Regions from separate parts of the Homo sapiens genome. Here regions 1, 2, 3, 4, 6 and 7 are each linked to region 5. The links are contacts of gene promoters, found by promoter capture Hi-C in blood cells and fetal thymus (Javierre and others, 2016). All regions are on one chromosome and are shown on one strand. Each heading gives the region's core, a stretch centred on a gene start or on the middle of the fragment in contact. The rest is flanking DNA. Distances are from core to core; before and after follow the strand shown.

Evidence for each region. Contacts are between HindIII fragments. The CHiCAGO score rates a contact against its expected background, and 5 or more counts as called.
Region 1: a fragment that was not itself captured here is called in contact with the fragment with the promoter of USP38 in region 5 in 1 of 17 cell types (non-activated CD4 T cells); the score reaches 5.6 in non-activated CD4 T cells.
Region 2: a contact is called between a fragment that was not itself captured here and the fragment with the promoter of USP38 in region 5, in 1 of 17 cell types (non-activated CD4 T cells). The highest score is 6.0, in non-activated CD4 T cells.
Region 3: a contact is called between the fragment with the promoter of ELMOD2 here and the fragment with the promoter of USP38 in region 5, in 5 of 17 cell types (activated CD4 T cells, non-activated CD4 T cells, naive CD8 T cells and 2 more). The highest score is 7.0, in activated CD4 T cells.
Region 4: a fragment that was not itself captured here is called in contact with the fragment with the promoter of USP38 in region 5 in 2 of 17 cell types (non-activated CD4 T cells and total CD4 T cells); the score reaches 10.7 in non-activated CD4 T cells.
Region 6: a contact is called between a fragment that was not itself captured here and the fragment with the promoter of USP38 in region 5, in 6 of 17 cell types (non-activated CD4 T cells, total CD4 T cells, total B cells and 3 more). The highest score is 13.2, in non-activated CD4 T cells.
Region 7: a contact is called between the fragment with the promoter of LSM6 here and the fragment with the promoter of USP38 in region 5, in 1 of 17 cell types (non-activated CD4 T cells). The highest score is 6.1, in non-activated CD4 T cells.

Annotation. Positions count from the first base shown.
Region 1 is chr4:145,939,697-145,942,396 of GRCh38, reverse strand. No RefSeq gene overlaps it. Among named protein-coding and RNA genes, the nearest start is that of ZNF827, 2.2 kb to the right of the region's middle. The HindIII fragment of the contact is 1,370 bases long and covers 698-2,067 here.
Region 2 is chr4:140,380,479-140,383,178 of GRCh38, reverse strand. SCOC (short coiled-coil protein) reads right to left here. Exons shown (of 4, transcript NM_001153484.2): 4 at 1-2,217. The coding sequence ends at 2,075. Among named protein-coding and RNA genes, the nearest start is that of SCOC, 8.2 kb to the right of the region's middle. The HindIII fragment of the contact is 3,889 bases long and covers 1-2,700 here.
Region 3 is chr4:140,522,793-140,525,559 of GRCh38, reverse strand. It overlaps ELMOD2 (ELMO domain containing 2), which reads right to left and starts at 1,392. Exons shown (of 9, transcript NM_153702.4): 1 at 1,280-1,392; 2 at 1-140. The coding sequence starts at 131. RefSeq lists silencers at 1,031-1,150, 1,341-1,690. The HindIII fragment of the contact is 7,186 bases long and covers 170-2,767 here.
Region 4 is chr4:140,362,430-140,365,129 of GRCh38, reverse strand. All of the region lies in intron 2 of SCOC-AS1 (SCOC antisense RNA 1), which reads left to right. It also overlaps a transcript of SCOC not described here. Among named protein-coding and RNA genes, the nearest start is that of SCOC-AS1, 9.6 kb to the left of the region's middle. The HindIII fragment of the contact is 1,321 bases long and covers 775-2,095 here.
Region 5 is chr4:143,183,561-143,186,260 of GRCh38, reverse strand. USP38 (ubiquitin specific peptidase 38) reads right to left here and starts at 1,344. Exons shown (of 10, transcript NM_032557.6): 1 at 129-1,344. The coding sequence starts at 810. It overlaps USP38-DT (USP38 divergent transcript), which reads left to right and starts at 1,400. Exons shown (of 4, transcript NR_185979.1): 1 at 1,400-1,753. RefSeq lists silencers at 953-1,202, 1,423-1,472 and enhancers at 524-1,408, 1,409-2,294. The HindIII fragment of the contact is 4,447 bases long and covers 1-2,700 here.
Region 6 is chr4:145,619,967-145,622,666 of GRCh38, reverse strand. All of the region lies in intron 1 of MMAA (metabolism of cobalamin associated A), which reads right to left. It also overlaps the pseudogene NCOA4P3. Among named protein-coding and RNA genes, the nearest start is that of MMAA, 1.9 kb to the right of the region's middle. The HindIII fragment of the contact is 3,337 bases long and covers 1-2,700 here.
Region 7 is chr4:146,174,430-146,177,129 of GRCh38, reverse strand. It overlaps LSM6 (LSM6 homolog, U6 small nuclear RNA and mRNA degradation associated), which reads right to left and starts at 1,412. Exons shown (of 4, transcript NM_007080.3): 1 at 1,319-1,412. RefSeq lists a silencer at 1,203-1,262. The HindIII fragment of the contact is 3,935 bases long and covers 1-2,700 here.

The sequences.
Region 1 (2,700 bases), core at 133-2,632, 2.8 Mb before region 5:
CTCTCAGTTTGTCAGTCAGTCATCCTTTCAAGTAAAAATAGCATTCCATTAAAAAGTGGCTATTTCAAACAATCTCACAAGTGATTTTCCTTCAGACAACCTATGTATTTCAGTATGCAGCAGAAGTGCTTTATATGTATCTACCTTTTTGTCAACAAAGAATATTTAAAAGTCTTGTACTTAAGGATTGAGATGTAATACAATTAATAATTTTTACTGCTCTATCAAGGACATTCTTAGATGAACCTCCCTTTTTCCTTCCTCTAAGTGCATGATGGTGAAGAATAGGATCACTATTATACTTTTTGGTGCTCTGCCCTGATTAGTGCTAAGATGTGGCATTTTTACCCACCATTGCTTTTGCATCATCAGTGCAAATGTCAACACAGATAAAAAGACAAATAACATCTTACTGTTAGTATGCAAGTAGTTCTGACCTCATGGACTCTGGATAGTATGAAAGTAGTTTCGGACCTGCAGACCACACACTATTCTAGGGTAAGTGCTCCCTTTGTCTACTCATCGTTAGCAATATTTGAGCTTGAATAGATTTCACTTCTGTGAGAGTGTTTATGAAACTTCTTCTTAGAGTGCACAGTTTTGAGAAAATCTATTTTAATTTCACATTTGAGAGGTAATGGAGATGGGGGTGGAGAGAGTACTATAATTATTAAGATAAAATATGCTTTTTAAAGCTTAGTCCATGGGTGGGGTGAATCAAATAGAATATTCCAATCTGATGAGTATGGCCAACAATAATCAAAGCTCATGGTTCATGGGTATATATATCCCAAAAGCATACATTTCCAAAATTATTTATGCATTTGATTTTGAAATCCATTATCGTAACCCCCAAGTATTTATTTTCCTAATGTTTTTGTTAGTCTGACATTAAAATTAGTTTGTGTTCCCTGAGCATACAGCGATTGAGGGTGAGATGCAAATGACCTTGAAGAGTGTTTTATAGCATAAAGGTACCAACCTGAGATTGAAACGGAAATTGTTCTGTCCTTATTTCCATTTTCTATTGTTGTGTACTATTTCAAATAATTTTTGGAAAGAGGTGGAGGTATGAATAAATTCAATTTAAAAATGCTTTTGGCTGTTGATAGAACACCTATATAATTAAAAGTTGACAGCATTTTCCTGCATGCCTTTAAAAGGTCGCAGGAAATGTACTCTGCTTTGAGGAAAGGCCTAAAGTGTGTTTTCAATTATAGCAAACTAAACATTAGGAAGAGTCCTAGCAATTCAGAAAAGGTAGTGGTGTGTCTATGCAGAGTCATAATCCTGAACACCCTAGCCAAAGGTTCTGAGAGAGCAGTGGTGAAGTGTGGTGACCATTTTGTTCAGCTGTAAAGATTCTACACACTCAGAGCATTGGTCTACTTGGAAAGGATGGGCTCTAATTTATCATTAATATATTAATTTCAAGTCCAATGTCACCGACAATAGTCAAAATTATGGCAAATTGAATTTGACCTGAGTGGAAAGATAGTTATATTTCAAATTATAATGCAGGGCAACCTAACTACCAGTTTTTTAAAACCAACATTTGAGGAAGAACTGGTTTAAGGATGATGCTCCTTTTTTTTTTTTTTTTTTTTTTTTGAGATGGAGTCTCGCTCTGTCGCCAGGCTGGAGTGCAGTGGCCCGATCTCGGCTCACTGCAACCTCCGCCTCCCAGGTTCAAGCGATTCTCCTGCCTCAGTCTCCCAAGTAGCTGGGACTACAGGAGTGTGCCACTACATCCAGCTAATTTTTGTATTTTTAGTAGAGACGGGATTTCACCATGTTGGCCAGGATGGTCTCGATCTCTTGACCTCGTGATCTGCCCACTTCCGCCTCCCAAAGTGCTGGGATTACAGGGTGCTCCATTTTAAACTTGACTGCTCTCTGTTTTGGTTTTAGATTGAATTCATGCAGGTGTTTCAAACCTCGCTTTCAATAGCATTACTTGTTACTGGGAAGCTAGATCTTTTGGGGGGAGTTGGCAGGGAGGGGTTGAACGTGAGATTTCTCTATCAGTGAAAGACATCTTTTGGGAGATACAGCACTCTTTAAGCTTCACTTATAAAAGTGTGCAATATAAAGCCTTATTATTATTTTTAATAAGGCAAGTCAGAATTTAACCCCCATGGCTCTCTTTAACACCACTGAAGTTGTAAGAATTAACTCAACCTCAAAGAGGCATGAGTTATCCATGTAGGCTTATAGAGTGTCATTTTAATGTTCTATGTCTTTACTGTGCCTCCACTTTCTTTGATGAAAAGGTCTATTTAAAAATTGGTAGGAAAATATTTAACATAATAAGATGATGAGTCAGAGTTTTAAAAAAGCTAAAAAGGGAAGATGTAGTTAAATAATGCACCTTTTTATTTTCTAGCTACATGACTCATGACATATAATGTATTCTGCTAAGTTCAAAGTTTCCTCTTACAAAGAGAGTTTTATGAAACAACTCTTCTTCAGACCATTTTTATTTCAATTATAGTAGCAGGTTTTGGAGTTTAAATCATTAACAACCTCTGAGTGAACTTTTATCCAAATGACTGCAAGTCACAAAGAGAACAGTCCTCTTTCACCAAGTACCTTTTGTGCTCTAGTGAGACCCGTCCTTTTCTATTTTTCTCCTTTATGTCTCTCTTTGAAGAAAGATGTGTGATTTGTAAGGTAATGAAAGTATGTATCAGTTAATGA
Region 2 (2,700 bases), core at 44-2,543, 2.8 Mb after region 5:
AGCTGGAAGATGGCTTCCCAGCCAGGGACTACATTTCTCAGCTCCTCTTGTATCTAGATGTAACTAAGTCTCCACACCACTGGAATATGAGAAGATATATGAGCCATTTCCAGGCACAGCCCATAACACCTTGCATATGTACACTTCCATGTTCTTTTTCTGCAAATTAGAAGAATAACTAGAGTGACTTGAAAGCCATGATTTAAAATGGCAGCACCATCCTCAGCCAAAGTCCCTGAATAACTGTTTGAACAAGGGCTGCTAGCCTGCAATGCTGACCTTGGAACCACTGGTTGGGAGAGAAACTTCTATATTTATATTCTTTATCACTGGGTCTCTTGCTAAAGTAGCTTAGCCTACCCTAAAAAATACAACTTCCTTTTTCCCTGGAGATACTGGATCCTTTGAGTGCTTTGCTTTTGTTTTCCAAATTAATGTATAATAGCCTATGATATTTATATTGATAACCAGTTATAGTTGTATTAATAAAAATATTATTCCCCTAAATAATCAGTAACTGGGTACTTAAATAAGATACACTATTCTGTGGCATTGAATAACCCTGGATACACCACTATACCTAAATACCCCATTTACTTAGGCAACTATATCAAAACACACACAACCTCTGAAATAGCTTTTTATTAAACGGCAAAGCAGAACTGCAACACAATTTAAATGTCTGTAAATTAGGTCACAAAAGGGATGCAAAATGTTTGCAGTTTGACTATTATATATTCACACAGCTAAAGTCATTCATCAACTCTTACACCAATACATAAGATTATTCCATGATTAAAAGCCCAAATCTAATAACCTTAAGCTACATTAGTGGATCTCTTTTCATATTATAAGATTTTAGCAATACTTCCAATATTGATTTCCTTACCAAATGGAATCTAGAAGCTAAATTTTTAAAAATTGTTAAAGGATGACTAAAACTCTTCAAACCCAGTAGCAGGGTTTACAGAAAATTCTAGAACAAGTGAGATAAAATACTGAGCAAGATAATAAGTATACATGTATAACTTTCCCATTTTATTCACTATTCTAATACTAATACACCATTACGGAATTTTGCAGAAGTTGACCCACTGGGTACAAATCAACTTAGAGACCAAACTCTTTGTAACTGTTCTCATCCAGATGTGGCTAACATAAGGGTAGTCAAACTTAATCCACTTTCATATATATTTCCCAAAAGATCTACTCTGTGCCAGAGAAAACACAAATCTGGAGTGAAAATATTTGGTTACTACTGTTTACCGAGTACTTTTCCACCCTATTTCCATTTTTCCTCAAAATTTTCTATTTTAACATACACATGACCAGAAATTATATATTTTCAGATAATACAAAATGAGTTATTTTGGGCAAAAAGAAGTTTTTAACAACAAATATTCCCAAGTTAATTCAGTTTCAAAGAAAAACCTTCATTTTTAGCCTCCATCTATTTCCAATTAATTAAAGAGACACTAGCATTCCTATCTTAACACTAAATACACAAATGACAAGCCCTAGCTGAGACAGTATCTTATTTTGGTTAAGTTTCAACAATTAAAATACAGGTTACTCTCAGAGATGATTAACTATTAAAATTACTTTTACAAATGTGACACCAATTTTTTTCCTTAGCGGAAGGGAAATAGGAAGGAAGAGGCAAATGGAGAAGAGGCACAAGATGGTGGACAGGGTACATAAAGCTGTGCATTTAGTACATGATTTTGGTCACTTTTTCACAACACGGTGGTTATTTTCTTGTATATCTTACTAATCCTATAATAAAAGACAGTGCTAAACCTACAAATTCAATAAAACATTCATCTTTAAGTTTCATAAATATATGCAATTCTAATCATAAAGTCTCTACAATACATTTGCACGTTTTCATAGACTAACATAATACACAAACTTATGGAAGTCTCCTGTTATTGTGTTATTTTTGTCTACATCTGACATTATCTTCATAAATATTCAATGAAGCCACAAAGGTACTGTAACTTTTGGAATCTATCCAAGTTTTAAAGAAAAAATGATCAGCAGCAATTCCATAAAACAGAAGGGTGTCAATCCCTTACTTTCTTTTGCTTTTTGTGTCAGTTGTTTGAAAAACACTAGAAGCTGACATGAGATTTTCTATATATTGTCCAAGAACTTGGTTTTCTGATTTTAGCTTCAGATTTTCTTCCTTAACTGCATCTACTCTTGCAGAGAGATCTATATAAAAAATAAAAATGCCCATTATCAATAAAACAATGACAATGATTCCATATTACAAAATTCTTAGGATTCATTCTTAAAAGAAATAATACAATCCTTAAATTTTAAGAATTCGGATTTTAGAGACAGCAAGGTAAACAAACTGAGTACAAATTAGTAGACAAATTCCTAAAAAGATATTTCACATTAGACTAAATGCTATTCTTCATAAATAGCATTAATGTTGAGTAATTTTTTAAAAAGACTTTGTTTTTAAAATGTGAATTTTGGTTCATGTCTTATCAACATAAAACTATAACATCTTTACTAGAAATGTTTAAGATATATATCAGGTTAACACAACTGAATTCATATACTGAATACAGGCAGTCAGTTTCCAAGCAACTTATCATCTTGTATTGTAACATTATCAAGACATTGAACACATGCAGTTCCTGATGATCACATAAGAGGTTAATTCCGGCTGGGCACGGTGGCTCG
Region 3 (2,767 bases), core at 143-2,642, 2.7 Mb after region 5:
GTCCTTTGTGCACCTACATAGGTATCAAATATTCGCTGCAATTCACACTTCCCAGTCATCTGTCGTAATAGCCATTTCATCCAAAATCGAAAAAAGTGCCCATAGAAGAACTCCCACAAAGAAATAAACATTTTTTTTTCCTGGAGGAGGGAAACATACAAGACAAGCTTAATGACCTTAAACTGAATTTTAAAATTTAAAAAGTTTATACAACTGATCAAATCTCAAATTATGTATCTATCATTTCATTGTGTCTGTTTTGACAGTTTAATTAGGCATTTAAAAACAATGGCAGGTGTAATATATACCGCTATTAATTGATGATCAAATGGCCAATTAATCACTTTTTCAAAACTAAAATTCAAACAATGTACTCAAACTATTCAATGGCTTGAAAGAGTAACAGAATGGTTTGCACTTTTTGCTAAATAATTGTATTTCATATCTTAGTTTCCTAACTTCCCATTCTTTGAGAACTGGGGCTCAACAGTTCAAGATCAAGAGGACTCCAACTAATCAACAATTAAAATATATACCAAAACATCAGAGTTGTTTTTATAGAATACACTCTTCTTATCCCATGTGGATAATTCGTTACAACTGTCCCAGTCAGGTGATGCCAGCAAATAAAAACACTACAAACTTAAGTATACAAGTTGAACACTGAGTATATAACACCTTAGCTCATTCTTGATTTTCCATTCAATAGGTCAAGGGCAGAAATACTAACAAGTTTTTGTTTTGCTAAGTACACACTCGATACAACTATATCTTATGCCATAAGAAAATTCTTCAGCTTCTAAATGAAAAAGTCAGGGAGATACTAGTGAGAGGGAGATACTTAAAAACAAAATTGCTCGTCTCCTTCCTGCCTTAAACATTCCCACAGACACGTCACCTCTGGACTAGGGCCTGAGGAGGGACTGTCGAAGTTCGAAGTACCCGCAGGTCAGTGCAGAAAGAGCGCATAGCACAGCTGGGTTGATCATTATCTTGAAAATCAAGCCATCTAGTCCGCGCTCATTAGGACAAAAGCGCAGAACTGCCGAGCAGAGGGGATGCACGCGTAGCGGCGCCTGAGCACCCCAGGGCTCTGGGCGTCTCTGCGCCGACCCCCCTCGCGCGCCGCCCGCGAATGGGAGGGCAGGGCTCGCACAAAGACCCGCCGGCCCAGGCGCCCCCGGGTTCCCGCAGAACCCCGCGGGGCTCGCGAGCCCGCGCGCTCTCAGTGCAGCCGCACCGAGGCATCCGGGGCAAGAGGAAAAGAAACAGCAGCCACCTCACAGGAGCGGAAGAACTAGGGGGAGCAGGAGCTGCCTCGGTTTCCCCACTGCAAACAGCCGGCAACGGAAACGACGGAACACTCCCTTCAAGCACCGCGACCCGGAAGTCAGGGAGCGAGGCCGCGGACCCGCCTTCCCAGGGCCACTGCCCGCCCCGCCCCTCCGGCCTCTTCCGATTGGCCCGCGCTCCACCTATTGCTAACGCTGGAGAGAGGTCGAGCTGAGTGGCCCAGGCGCGAGGGCTCAGATACTAGGGACGCCCAGACGGTTTCCCTGGCAACGGCGGCCAGGAGCCCCGCCCCGCGCCGGAGTAGCGCCTCCTAGCGCTGCGCTGGAGACTTTTCCCTCCTTGAACCTCAGGTCCTTAGCGCGGGTTGACACCTTGTACTATTCCTAGGCTCCAAGCGCGGAAGAAACCCTGTGCTTACGGTAACTTATAGTGCCTTAGTTACAAAAGCGCTTTCATCTGCATTGAATCTTAATTCTGTGAAGTAATTATGAATAACTCCACTTTATGCACGAGAAAAGGGAACCGGCTACTTGACTGTGGCCAATACGTGGCAGATGAGGAAAGTCCATGTGTTGAGAAACGAAGTTTGGACTTTATCCTATAATACTATAGGTCTAAAAGTTAATTTATCAAATGTTTATTCCCTAACTGGTTGTTTTTGTTGAAAAAGTAATTTCGTGATTACTTTTTAAAAACCTCAAGCAGTAAGTTTCTTAATTCAACAAGTATTTGTTGATTGTTAGCACAGGCAGTGTTCCAAAAGGCAGTCAAACACGAAACAAACAGCCAAATATTTAATATGTCAGATGCTACTAAATGTTAAGGGTATAGGGGTTGTTAGCTAAGGGGTAATGGGGAGTCTGTGGGGGAAGTCATTGCATACAGTGTGGTCAAGGAAGTCTCATTATTAACGTGGCATTTTGGCCTCATTGAACGAAGTAAGGGAGTTTACTGTGGGAGTATCTGGAGGGAGAGTGATCCAGGCACCAGAATGACAAGTGCAAAGACCTTGAATTGGGAGGGTTTTTGAAATGTTGGAGGAAGAGCAAGAAGGCCGGGGTGGCTGGAGGAGAAAGAGCAAGGGGGAGAGTAGAATATAAATACAAAGGACAACTGATACTGAAAACAAATTTCCCCATCCACCCAAAACTCCTGATACCTCCGTCACCTTGCTCAGAAGCAACCAGTATTACTTTCTTGTTTCTAATTCCAAAAATATTATATGCAAGTGTATATATGTATATTCCTTCCAACTCCTTGAATTGAAGCAAGTGATACATACTTTCCCACATCTCAACCAGCGTTTAAAAAATGGACTAATTGTAGAACACTAGCCATGTGCAGGGTGCATAAGCCGTCATCCCTGTCCCATACCAACAATGAACTTGGTAATGAAGTCTGGATAGACACTACAATAGTAAAATCACAGAATCTTAAATCTTAAAGAGAACTTATAACTATCATCTAATGTAAT
Region 4 (2,700 bases), core at 186-2,685, 2.8 Mb after region 5:
TAAATCCTGTGAAGTCATGCACAATATCTGGATAGTTTTCTTCAGCAGGAATTTATTATTTCAATCTTGATGACCTTCACAACTTTTTTTTATAACAACGATGACATCTTCAATGGTGTAATCATTCCAGACTGTCATGATGCTCTCTCTATCAGAATTCTCTTCCATGGCATTGACAGTCCTTTCCATTGAGTACCCTGTGTAATAAGGCTTAAGGGTTCTTAAGAGCCAAGGATCTAGAAGCTGAATTAAAGACATTGTGTTTGGGGGCAAGTAGACCACATTGACAGCTTCAGTTTTGACCTCATGGGGTTCTGGGTGGCCAGAGGCACTGTCCAATATCAGAAAAAAATTTAAAGGTAGTCCCTATGGGCAAGGTAATTCCTGACTTCAGGGACAAAGCATTGATGGAAACAATCCAGAAAAAGGGTTCTCATTGTCTGGGCCTTCTTGTTGTACAGCCATTAAGACTGGCAGCTGATGTTTTTCTTTTCCCTTCAAGGCTCAGGGATGAGCAGCTTTATAGATAAGGGCAGTCCTGATCATAACCCCCCTGCATTTGCACAAAACAGTATAGGTAGCCTATCCCTTCCTGCCTTAAATCCTGGTGCTCACTTCTCTTCCTTACTAATAAATGTCCTTTGTGGATTTTTTTTCCAGAATAGGGCACTTTGATCTGCATTAGAAACCTGTTCAGGCAGATATTCTGTCTCCTCAATGATTTTCTTAATGGCATCTGGAAACTTGTCTGCTGTCTCTTGATTGGCAGAAGCTTCTTCTTTAATTATCTTGACATTTTTAAAGCCAAACCTCTTCCTAAAATTATTAAGCCATCCTTTGCCAGCATTAAATTCTTCAGGTTTACATCCTTCGCCTTCCTTTTGCTCTAAGTTGTCATATAATGACTTCGCTTTTTCTCAAATCACATCACAGTAGGTATGCCTTTCTTATAGCAATCCTGCATTCCCACAGAAAAACTGCATTTTCAATACTAGATAAAAAGGTATTTTGCAAAAAGTGTAAGTTTTTCATGCTTGCTGGTGTAGCTGCAGTGATAGCTTCATGAATTTCCTTTTCTTTTTTTACAATCTTTCTTAAGCTGAATTCATTTATCTTGAAACGGTGGGCAACCACAGCTGCAGACTTCAATCTGCAATACATATCAAGCAATTCAACTTTGTCTTGTAATGTCATGAATTTTCTCTGCTTCTTGGGAGCACTTCCAGCATCACTAGTGGCACTTTGTATGGGTGCCATGGTGTTATTCAAGGTTTACAGTATTGCACTAAACACAATGAAAAAACACTAGAGAACCACAAGAGATTACTTTTTACTGCTATAGGCAATTTACCAGAGAGATGAACTGCTCACACAGAGATAATTAGCATCCCATGGCATTTTAAGTGGATACTCACAGCACTTAAGCTCACAGCAATAGCAGCAGGAAGTGGCTGTGAAATTATGATGGTAGTACAGTATGTACTACAGTTAATTTTATGCACTTATGGTTTAATACAGCATCTGTACATTTGTTTACATTTCTCTCAACTGCAAATGGTGCCATGTGTGCTCTGTAAGCATGTGCATAAGTTTTGATAAATTGTAACTTTTTATAATAGATTTGTGATATTTTATGGTAATAGTAACACAGACTAGTATCTACATATGTTTATGCATTTGTGACATACCTAATTTTTTATATATTTCTAGGCTATGAAGTTTGTGAATTTTTCCAAATTGTCACAATCTCCAAAAAATTTTCCATTATATTTACTGAAAAAAATGCATACAAGTGGACTCATGCAGTTCAAACCCATGGTGTTCAAAGGTCAGCTGCACTTACAAGCTAACGATTGCCTGTTTCATGAATGCTGGCGGAAGACATGAGATGTCTGGGTCAGAGTCTAAGGACTCTCTTACTCCCAGCTCATCATGAGCTTCATGCTGATTTGTTGCTGTTACCTATGTCCCCCAAGTCCCACAGGGATGAGGCAGAGGGCCCCTGTAGATGCCTATACATGCAGCGGGTTATAATATAGGAGAGGAACATTGAGTTTGGGGAATCTTTGGCTTTTATGGCAAGTGGAAGCAAGCTTGCTCTTTAACCAGAGAGGCATTACCTCATCCCTTAAAGTTGCTCTCTGAAAACATACCTGAGTAAAGCCTGGGTTGACTGTATTCTTGGCATACCAGCAAGAATATGCAATGACACTCAGGGCCCATCCCAGTTTGCTTCTCCCAAAAACCTCTAAATTGAATGATCTTTAGTTCTGTGTCAAACTCCTGTTTTTCTTCCTCCTTCCTTATATAGTATCCTAAGGGAAATACCACAAAATGTCTCAGAAAATGTTGGTTGGATATCTAAAGTTTAAAAAGGAAGAGAACCACACCAGCTGGAGATTAAAGAAGCATCAGTAGAAGTCAGTGGCCATTAATAGAAATATTTTTAAAATAAGTCAAGTAGTATTTTTGTAGCTCCCTCCCTAACCTTTCTTTTCCACTATTTGACCAAACCCTACAACAATAAGAAGTAACAGCTGGGCACAGTGGCTCACGCCTGTAATCCCAGCACTTTTGGTGGCTGAGGTGAGCAGATCACTTGAGGTCAGGAGTTCCAGACCAACTTGGCCAATATAGTGAAACCCTGTCTGTAATAAAAATACAAAAATTAGCCGGGCATGGTGGCTTGGCCTGTAGTCT
Region 5 (2,700 bases), core at 95-2,594:
AGGTATTAGGATTTGCTCTCGCTTAAGAATGTTTTTAGGGCAGGAGGAAAACATGGTGTGAATGTGTGTGTGCAAGAGAGACATATACTGATTTTTTATGAGATATTCTGAAAGATAATGACCCTTACCTGTGGAAGAGATGCTTGCAAAAACTTCTTGCAGGGAAGGCAGTAGTGTGGCAGGCTCGGCCTTCCAGATGTTCTGCAGCAAGTTACTCACTTTTGTCACCTGGGAGACATATTCCCGCAGCTCTCTTTCCTGGGTGGACACGCACTGGAAATGGCCTATCGTTCGAACCAGCTGTTGACAGAACGTGATGGACAATTTCCCCTTGGGGATGCATTGCACAAAGTCGGTCAGAAGGTCGCTCAGTCGGGCACAGAGCTGCGGCTCCGGCCTCTCACACACCATCCGTAACACCTCTACCTGCAGGAGGCTAAAGAGATCCAGCACCGACGGACAGCTCATAATCAGCTTCAGGCCGTTGTGAATGTAGTCCAGGATGGCTACATCCTTCCTGTCCAGAGAGTGGTAGCCCTGATGAAGGAGGCCCAACACGAAGGTCTTGTTGAAGAAGGACTCGAACTCTGGCCGGTGGTATCGTGCGTAGGCCTCCAGCACCTGGTGCCCCACCTGCCGCTGGAAAGGGTCCTGGCCCTCCAGGATGAGCCGGGTCGTCAGGTCAAACATGGCCTCGCACTGCGCCTCGTCTAGCCAGTGCTCCGCCGATTCCACCACCTTCCGCACAATCACCCGCTTGAGGGGCAGGGGATGCGAGGAACTCACAAGGCCCTCCAGGATCTTGTCCATTGTCGCCACGCTGCAAGGCCAGGGCCAGGGGATAAGGAGCGGGTGGCGGCAGCCCCGAGGTGGGGCAGGAGAGCCCCGGGGCGGAGATGAACTTGGAGCGCCGCAGCAGCAGCGCGACGGGCCACGGCCACCGCCGCCTCAGCAGCCACATTTATGGCGCAGGGAGACCCATCCAAGCCGGGGCGGGAGCTAGCGAGCCTGGAGAGCCTAAGAACCGACACCTGCGGCTGGCCTAAGGCGCCAGAGGCCCGTACTCCGCCGCCGCCCCGGGCCCTCGATCCCACTCAGCATCAGCGCCGAGGGGCCTGTCGGGCCCCCCAGCGGCGTCGGCGGGAGCTCAGGGCCCGGGGCTGCTAGCCGGCGGGTGGAGGAAGCACGCCTCCGAGTTCCGGGTCAGGTGTGGGCGTCCAGTCTCCAGCAGGTCGTGAGAAGAAGCCGGTCCTGGGCTGAGTCAGGAGGCGCTGTCACGGAGAGTGCTGGGATCAGCCGGGGAGAAGAGACCGAAGCGACACCCTTTGACCCGGATTTTGAAGTGCCGGCAAACAGGAAGTGAAGGACCTAAGAACCTCCGGAAGGACCGCCCCTCCGCCCCTCTGCCCCTCCGCCCCTCCGCCTGTCCGCCTCTCTCCTTCTCCCTTGTTCCCTCTCTCCCTCCCTGCTCCCCCACCTCCCTCCCGAGTCGTAGACTCCCTTCCCCCCGGCGCTGGGAGTCTCCTTCCCGCCCCGCCGCGCAGGTGCGGCGACGGCCGCGTCACTGGAGAGTGTGTCGAGTCACAGGCGGTCTTCCGCGCGGAGCGTCCCCGGCGGACGCTGCGCAGATGGCTGCGACTGTAGGATTCTTGCCGGCTAGTCTTCGTCGGTTCCGCCTGCGTCAGGTTACTCGTGAAAACTCGAATAAGTGCTATCGATGTGAAATCCGAGGAAAAGAGCATTTGGGGGAAAAGTAAGGAAAACTCAAAACTCGGATTGAGAAGTCTGCCTTGGCTCATTAATCAAGAATTGCGCTTGCGCGCCTAAATGTGACTGCCTTTATCCTGCGATGTCGGTATTGAAGTAAGAGCAATACTGGCGGCGTACCTAGCATTTAGCGACCATCAGTATCAGTAGCAGGCCTCTAGCAAAGAACCAGTTAGTGAGCTTTGTACCATATCGAAAATTATAAGCCGTCCAAAAAAGTGTGAGAGTAAGGAAAATGGCAGATTAGAATCAAAATATTTTTATACCTGTGTCATACAAGGGTACTTTGAAAATAGAAAACCAGGTGGAAATACCACAAAACTTATTGTATATGTTGACACCGAAGATGGTTTACAATAGGGAAGAACAGGTGCAATCATGCTTGTTCTGTTTCATGCCAAATTCCGAAGATTCACAGTAAGAATTTAATCAGAGGTCTTTATATTGGAAAATATTGCCTAACTGTAGCCTGCTTCAGGCTTGGTTAATATAGTTGTGAAACTAGACATTAAGGCCCTGTAATACAGACAAAACTTTAAAGAAATAGGTCATTTAAAATGTCCCGTAGAAAAATGAACAAAATTCTGTTACTTCAGTTTGCTAAATAGTGTTTTGTTTTTTTACCAAGTTACAAACACGATTACACTAATATATTCACACGTCGATTATGGTAGTCTTAAGAAGAGCAGTTTAGAGGAGACAGGAGCTTGAGTAAAAGGGAACTTAAGACCAAGTTGACTCGTAGGAAGATACGGAAGATAAAAGAGAATTGAGGTAATTAATCTATCAGTCATGCTAGAGACAGGAATGATTTTTCCAATAGGAGGTGAAGGTACACAGATGTTTGTCTTTACTGGGAATAATGCCACAGTGGAAGACAAAGGTAATATAGAAAATAAAATATTAAGAAGGAATTAAGTATTAAGAAGGATC
Region 6 (2,700 bases), core at 122-2,621, 2.4 Mb before region 5:
GTATGTAAAACATTATTTTGCATTGATGAATTTTGTATCTGCCTCCATCAAAAGCATAACAGCCATAAAATAATAATAATCAAATCAAAATGTTTCAACTAATTTTCATGATTCCCGAGAATATGGCTTCATCCTACAATTTGTAAGCTAAGCACTATCAAAATACAAGAGAAATTCCCCAGCTTTACAAGATTCAGTAAGATATCTCAAAAGTAGGCCATATCTAGTATATTAGTCTGATTTCAGGCTGCTGATAAAGACATACCCGAGACTGGGTAATTTATACAGGAAAAAGGGTTTAATGGACTTACAGTTCTATGTGGCTGAGGAAGCCTCACAATCATGGCTGAAGGCAAGGAGGAGCAAGTCATGTCTTACATGGATGGCAGCAAGGAAAGAGAGAGCTTGTGTAGGGAAACTCCCATTTTTAAAACCATCAGATCCCATGAGACTCATTCACTATCATGAGAACAGCACAGGAAAGACCTGTCCCCATAATTCAATCACCTCTCACCAGGCTCCTCCCATGACACATGGGGATTGTGGGAGTTACAATTCAAGATGTGATTTGGGTAGGGACACAGCCAAACCATATCAGTTATCTTTGTATTTATAGCACAATTATTTGCTCACAGAATTAATGAATGTACACCATAATTCTGCATGGGTCAATAACTCCACTACACTGATTACTCAGTTAATTGATGTTTCTAAAATGTACATTTTTTTCTAGATTTTACAGTAATATATTTTAAGGACTTTCTTTTTAAACTGATTTCAATATATGGATATTTTCCTTCATTAAAAATTTGCTCAGCAGCAGCCAGTCTGACTTGGGATATTTATCTTGAAATTGATCCAATGAATATTCTCAATTTCAATAACTACTCTGGCAAGAAAAAGCATACAGAATTTCCTAAATCAATACAGTAGATCAGTGTCTGCAGCACAGCACAATTCGTACAGGCAATGCAGTGTTGTACCAAGTGTTTCCATTTCTCAATGCTAATCACTTTTGATTTGAAGATAAGCTGTCAAATGCCATTAATCTGTTTACCATATTCCACCCCCCCCAACCACAGAAGGCTTTATTTTCTCTTTTTCAAATAATTTCAGGAAACTTTTGTAGAGCAGGATGACTTCTTAAATAAGCAACTTTTAAATAGGTTTTAAATAGGTCATCATGAGTTAAGAGTAATAAAGAACAAATACCAAATTCATGAAGGGATTCTCTAAAGTTCTCTGTCCACTTTACTTTTTATCACTTTTCCAGTAAGATTCAGATTTCCCAATTCCTACTTTTAGGCTTAAATGTGCTTGAGAAGTCTCTATTTTTCTAAATTCCATCACCATTAAATGTTTTGATTCCCACTGCTACCACCCTATTTCAAATCCAGGCTTGAACTAGGAAGCTCTGAGACCAACTATGGAACCTGGGTAATTTCTCATATTCTCAAAGTTCCTTCACTTACAAAATGAAAACATTAAGATCTACGTATCAGGATCATGGTGAGTATAAATGAGTATGCATGAGAGAGCCTGGCACAGGGCCTGGCATCAAGCAGGTGCTAATCACCTCTAAGAAACTTTCCTCTTTTCTCTCTCCCTCCTCAGTCCTCCTTTCAGACTTCACAGCAAGACTCATTCTGAAAGGTGAATGTGATCTCCTTAGCCTCCTACTCAAATTCCTCCAAAAGTTCACCGTACCCTAGGACAGTGGTTCTCAAAGTGTAGTCCCCAGGCCAGCAGCACCTCTTGCGCTTGCCTTTCCAAAATTCCTCTAAGGAGAGTTTACTATCTTCCAAACCTGCCAACTCTCCCAACCCCAAGATTTAACTCATCTTTTACATCCTTCCCCCTCTATGATATCTCTCCTATACTACCCAGCTTAAAATCTTTCCTGACCATCCCAGTCTCTAGGACTTTTTCTGACCTCTAATTCCAATTATTTCTGAATACAAAGAGTCTTCATCTTACAATCGGGTCTGTGTCTGGATAAACCCACTGTAAAGTCAAAAAATCTTTAACTGAACCATTGTGTAAGTGTAGGACTGTACTAAGGTGAAAATCTGCAGAGGTCACAAACTAGTTGCACCTGGCCCACCCACAGAAGGTGTGTGTTAACTAAATTGGTTGCAAGTAACATTAAAAATCAAGAAAAAATACGTAAAAATACAGATCTTTGGCCTGTGTTGGAGAAAATCGGATCTGCGTTTGAGAGACCCCCATTCCCACATGGCAACAATCAGCTAAATGGTAAATGTTTCGAGCATTCACCAGCTCTTTCCATTCTAAATAAAGGTTTTCTTTTGACATCTTCAAATATCTCAAATGGTGATTTACATTTCTTATGGATATGTAACTTTTCATGCTTGTTTTGTCTCTCCTAATAGAATACAGCCCTTAAAAAACCTGTCCTTGTCTTTGACTTTTTAAAAACCTCTTGTTACCCTGAACACAAACCGGTATTTAGTGCAAAATTATTGTAAAAGAATATTCTGAACATTGTAGACAACAGCAAAATGCTGAATAATCCACACAGTTTTTCTGGAAACTTTTGGCTTTCTACCAAGTTGGAAAAGTTTTATTAGTTTATGTTTTCTAAACATATGGATTAGGGTACAACTCTTAAGACAGATAATAAAAAATTTTTATATTATTTTGGTTTAGGTCGTCTTTCATTTTCTAATGAGAAATACA
Region 7 (2,700 bases), core at 163-2,662, 3.0 Mb before region 5:
TATAAGGGAGTTATGCCAGATGACCACTTAAGTCTCTTCCTGCCCTAACATTCAGGTAGTCTAACGCATTAACGCCAGTGACACACACACACACACACACACCACAAACACAAGCCTCTCAAGATTTCTGCACAATATTTAAGCAAGTAAAATTACCAAACATCTCTAAAACTTTTTTGGAAAACACTGCAGCAATGTGTATGAAGGCCTAAAACAGACCTTTCAGATGACAGCATCTAATCTGATAATTTCACTTCTGAGAATCTAGTCCAAGGAAATAATCTAAAAAATAGGGGGAAAAGAGTTTATCAAAGCACTATCTGGGATGCTAAGATGATGTAAAAATTCAAAAACAATCTAATGTCCCACAATCGGGAAATGACTGAATAATTTACGGGACCTAAACTGGGACCCACAATGATAGGACAATCAAAAGAAGATACAAAATTAGAATAATATTTAGGAAGAGTTTTTAAATGGAAGTGGAAAACTACACTGTTAAGTGATTAAACATGTACACTCTTAGTTCAAGTAGAAGCTAGCACATACAAGAGAAAATGATCGTAGGTGAAAGGGTTCAGTGAATATTATTTTCTTCACTAAAGTCTTCTATGTTTGCAATTTTCTACAATAGTCACGTATTACTAAGAGCAGTGGGGCAGGGTAATCCGCATCATCTTAATCCTACACACCTTAAAAATGCCTGCTATGCAGGTGTGCGGACACGCATACGCACAGAAAACCTTGGGCGATAGGACTTAAGACCATACAATCGGGTTCCTCGACCTGACAACTTGGTAAGACAGGCGAGTCCAGCCTTTAATTCCTGTGGTCAGGCGCAGCCACCCCGATGTAGGAGAGGGTTCGCAATTCCCTGAAGCCCTCCTGGAAGACAGGCGAAGCCTAGGCCTGGGTTCGGGATCCGCTTTCCCGCCGAATCTTGGGATTAGCGTCGGGGCTCCCTGGGGAACTTCAACAACCTGAATTGATCTCGGACGCCAACTCGGTAGGAGCCGGGACGGTGCCGCTCCTCTCCGCGCAGTCTAGGCGCCTCGCTGAGGGCGGTCCCGGCGCCCACCATCAGACCTCTCCCAGCCATTCCATGCGCGGAGAGCTTGGACGCGGCATTTCGCGGGGACCCGCCACCCAGCGGTCCCTTCCCGGAGCCCCAGCCTGTTCACCGCAGGCCCTTTCCGGGGCTGCCTCGCCCGGCCTAGGGCCGCTGCAGCCGCCGCTCCACAGCGCGACTGAACACTGGGGCACCGAACCTGGGGCTGCGCCCGGCCCCGTCGTCGGCCCGCGCAGCGGTGCGGCTCACCTCGCCGGCGGGAACCAGAACCCTCACTCCAGGCGCCCCACGAGCCCGGCCGCCGCGGATGATCCCAGCCAAAACCGAAAGCGCCGAGGCAGGGGCACTTTTCTGCCTCAGCCAATCAGTGCTCTTCTCTGCTACGGCAGCCCGCTGGGGCCGAAAAAGCCTGTCAGCACCAAAGCGCGCAAATCCAAGATTCCTGGTTTGTCTAGTAGCAAAATTGGTGCAGTGGAGTTCCTCTAACAGAAATCTGAGTACAAAACAAATACAATACAAAACAAAAACAAAATTCCAGGAAACTAGAAGTGATCTTTTGGGCAGGATTTATTTACAGAAGTGTAAAAAATAACTTGAAGTCATAGGAAACTGGAATTTACTGTTTAAGTAACGGCATTGTGTACCCAGAAACGTCCTTGAATAGTTTAAAGCAAATAAATAAATAAATGAAACACCTCAAGTCTTTAAATCTACCTCTGGATATTGATTAAATGTGTGAAGACTTAAGCCATTTTAGCAAGAGACTGTTTCCATGGCAATGTTAATTGATACAAAAATAATCAAAATCACTCAAGTAACTCCAAATTATAATGACATTAATTGTGTTACATTACTAGTTCCTATTGGAAATGGTGTGCAGACTTATTTCAGTGCTACTATGGGAACTTGGTTTGGAATTTTGCATGAATTCTCAATACTCTTTCTATTAATGGAATTGAAAGGGAAAAAGAAGAGAACTGTTACACCAGGACTTGATTCGTTTTTCCCCCTCCACATATACTCTCATCAGTTGAAAACTTATACTTTAATTATATTTATGATTTGTAACACTATACACAGAGTGATAAGATCTTTCAACACAGATCCTTAACCCCATTAGGTGTTATAAAATCTAAGATGCAAAATTTTTTTCGAAGATAAAGAGTTCCTCCCTTGTAAACTTCTTTTGGTTAAAGGCAGAAGAAATGAACTTTTGATTGATATCAGGGACAGAAAACAACTGGATATGATTTGTTAAAGAATAGAGACTTCCTTATATCCTTCTATAAAAGTTCAGTTTGGATAAAGACCGAACAGTTACTGATTTATTGTGAGGGCTGTATTTGAAGTTCTTGCAATATAAAATACAATGTAAATAAAAATTTTAAGAAAAGTACCATTTAAATCAAATAATTACGTGCAAAGAACAAACATAATAGGATAAAAAGCCCTGTTCCTAAAAACTTTCTTTGCAAACGACATCAAATTGCACATTCCTTACTGATTGTTTAAATTATTAAAAAAAAAAAGAAAATTTTTGATTCAAACTTCTTTCCCTTTCCTACAGAGCCCTAATCGAGCCGTTAACACTAGTGTGGTGGGTAGGGAGCCATGAGGAGTTTTAAGGGCCT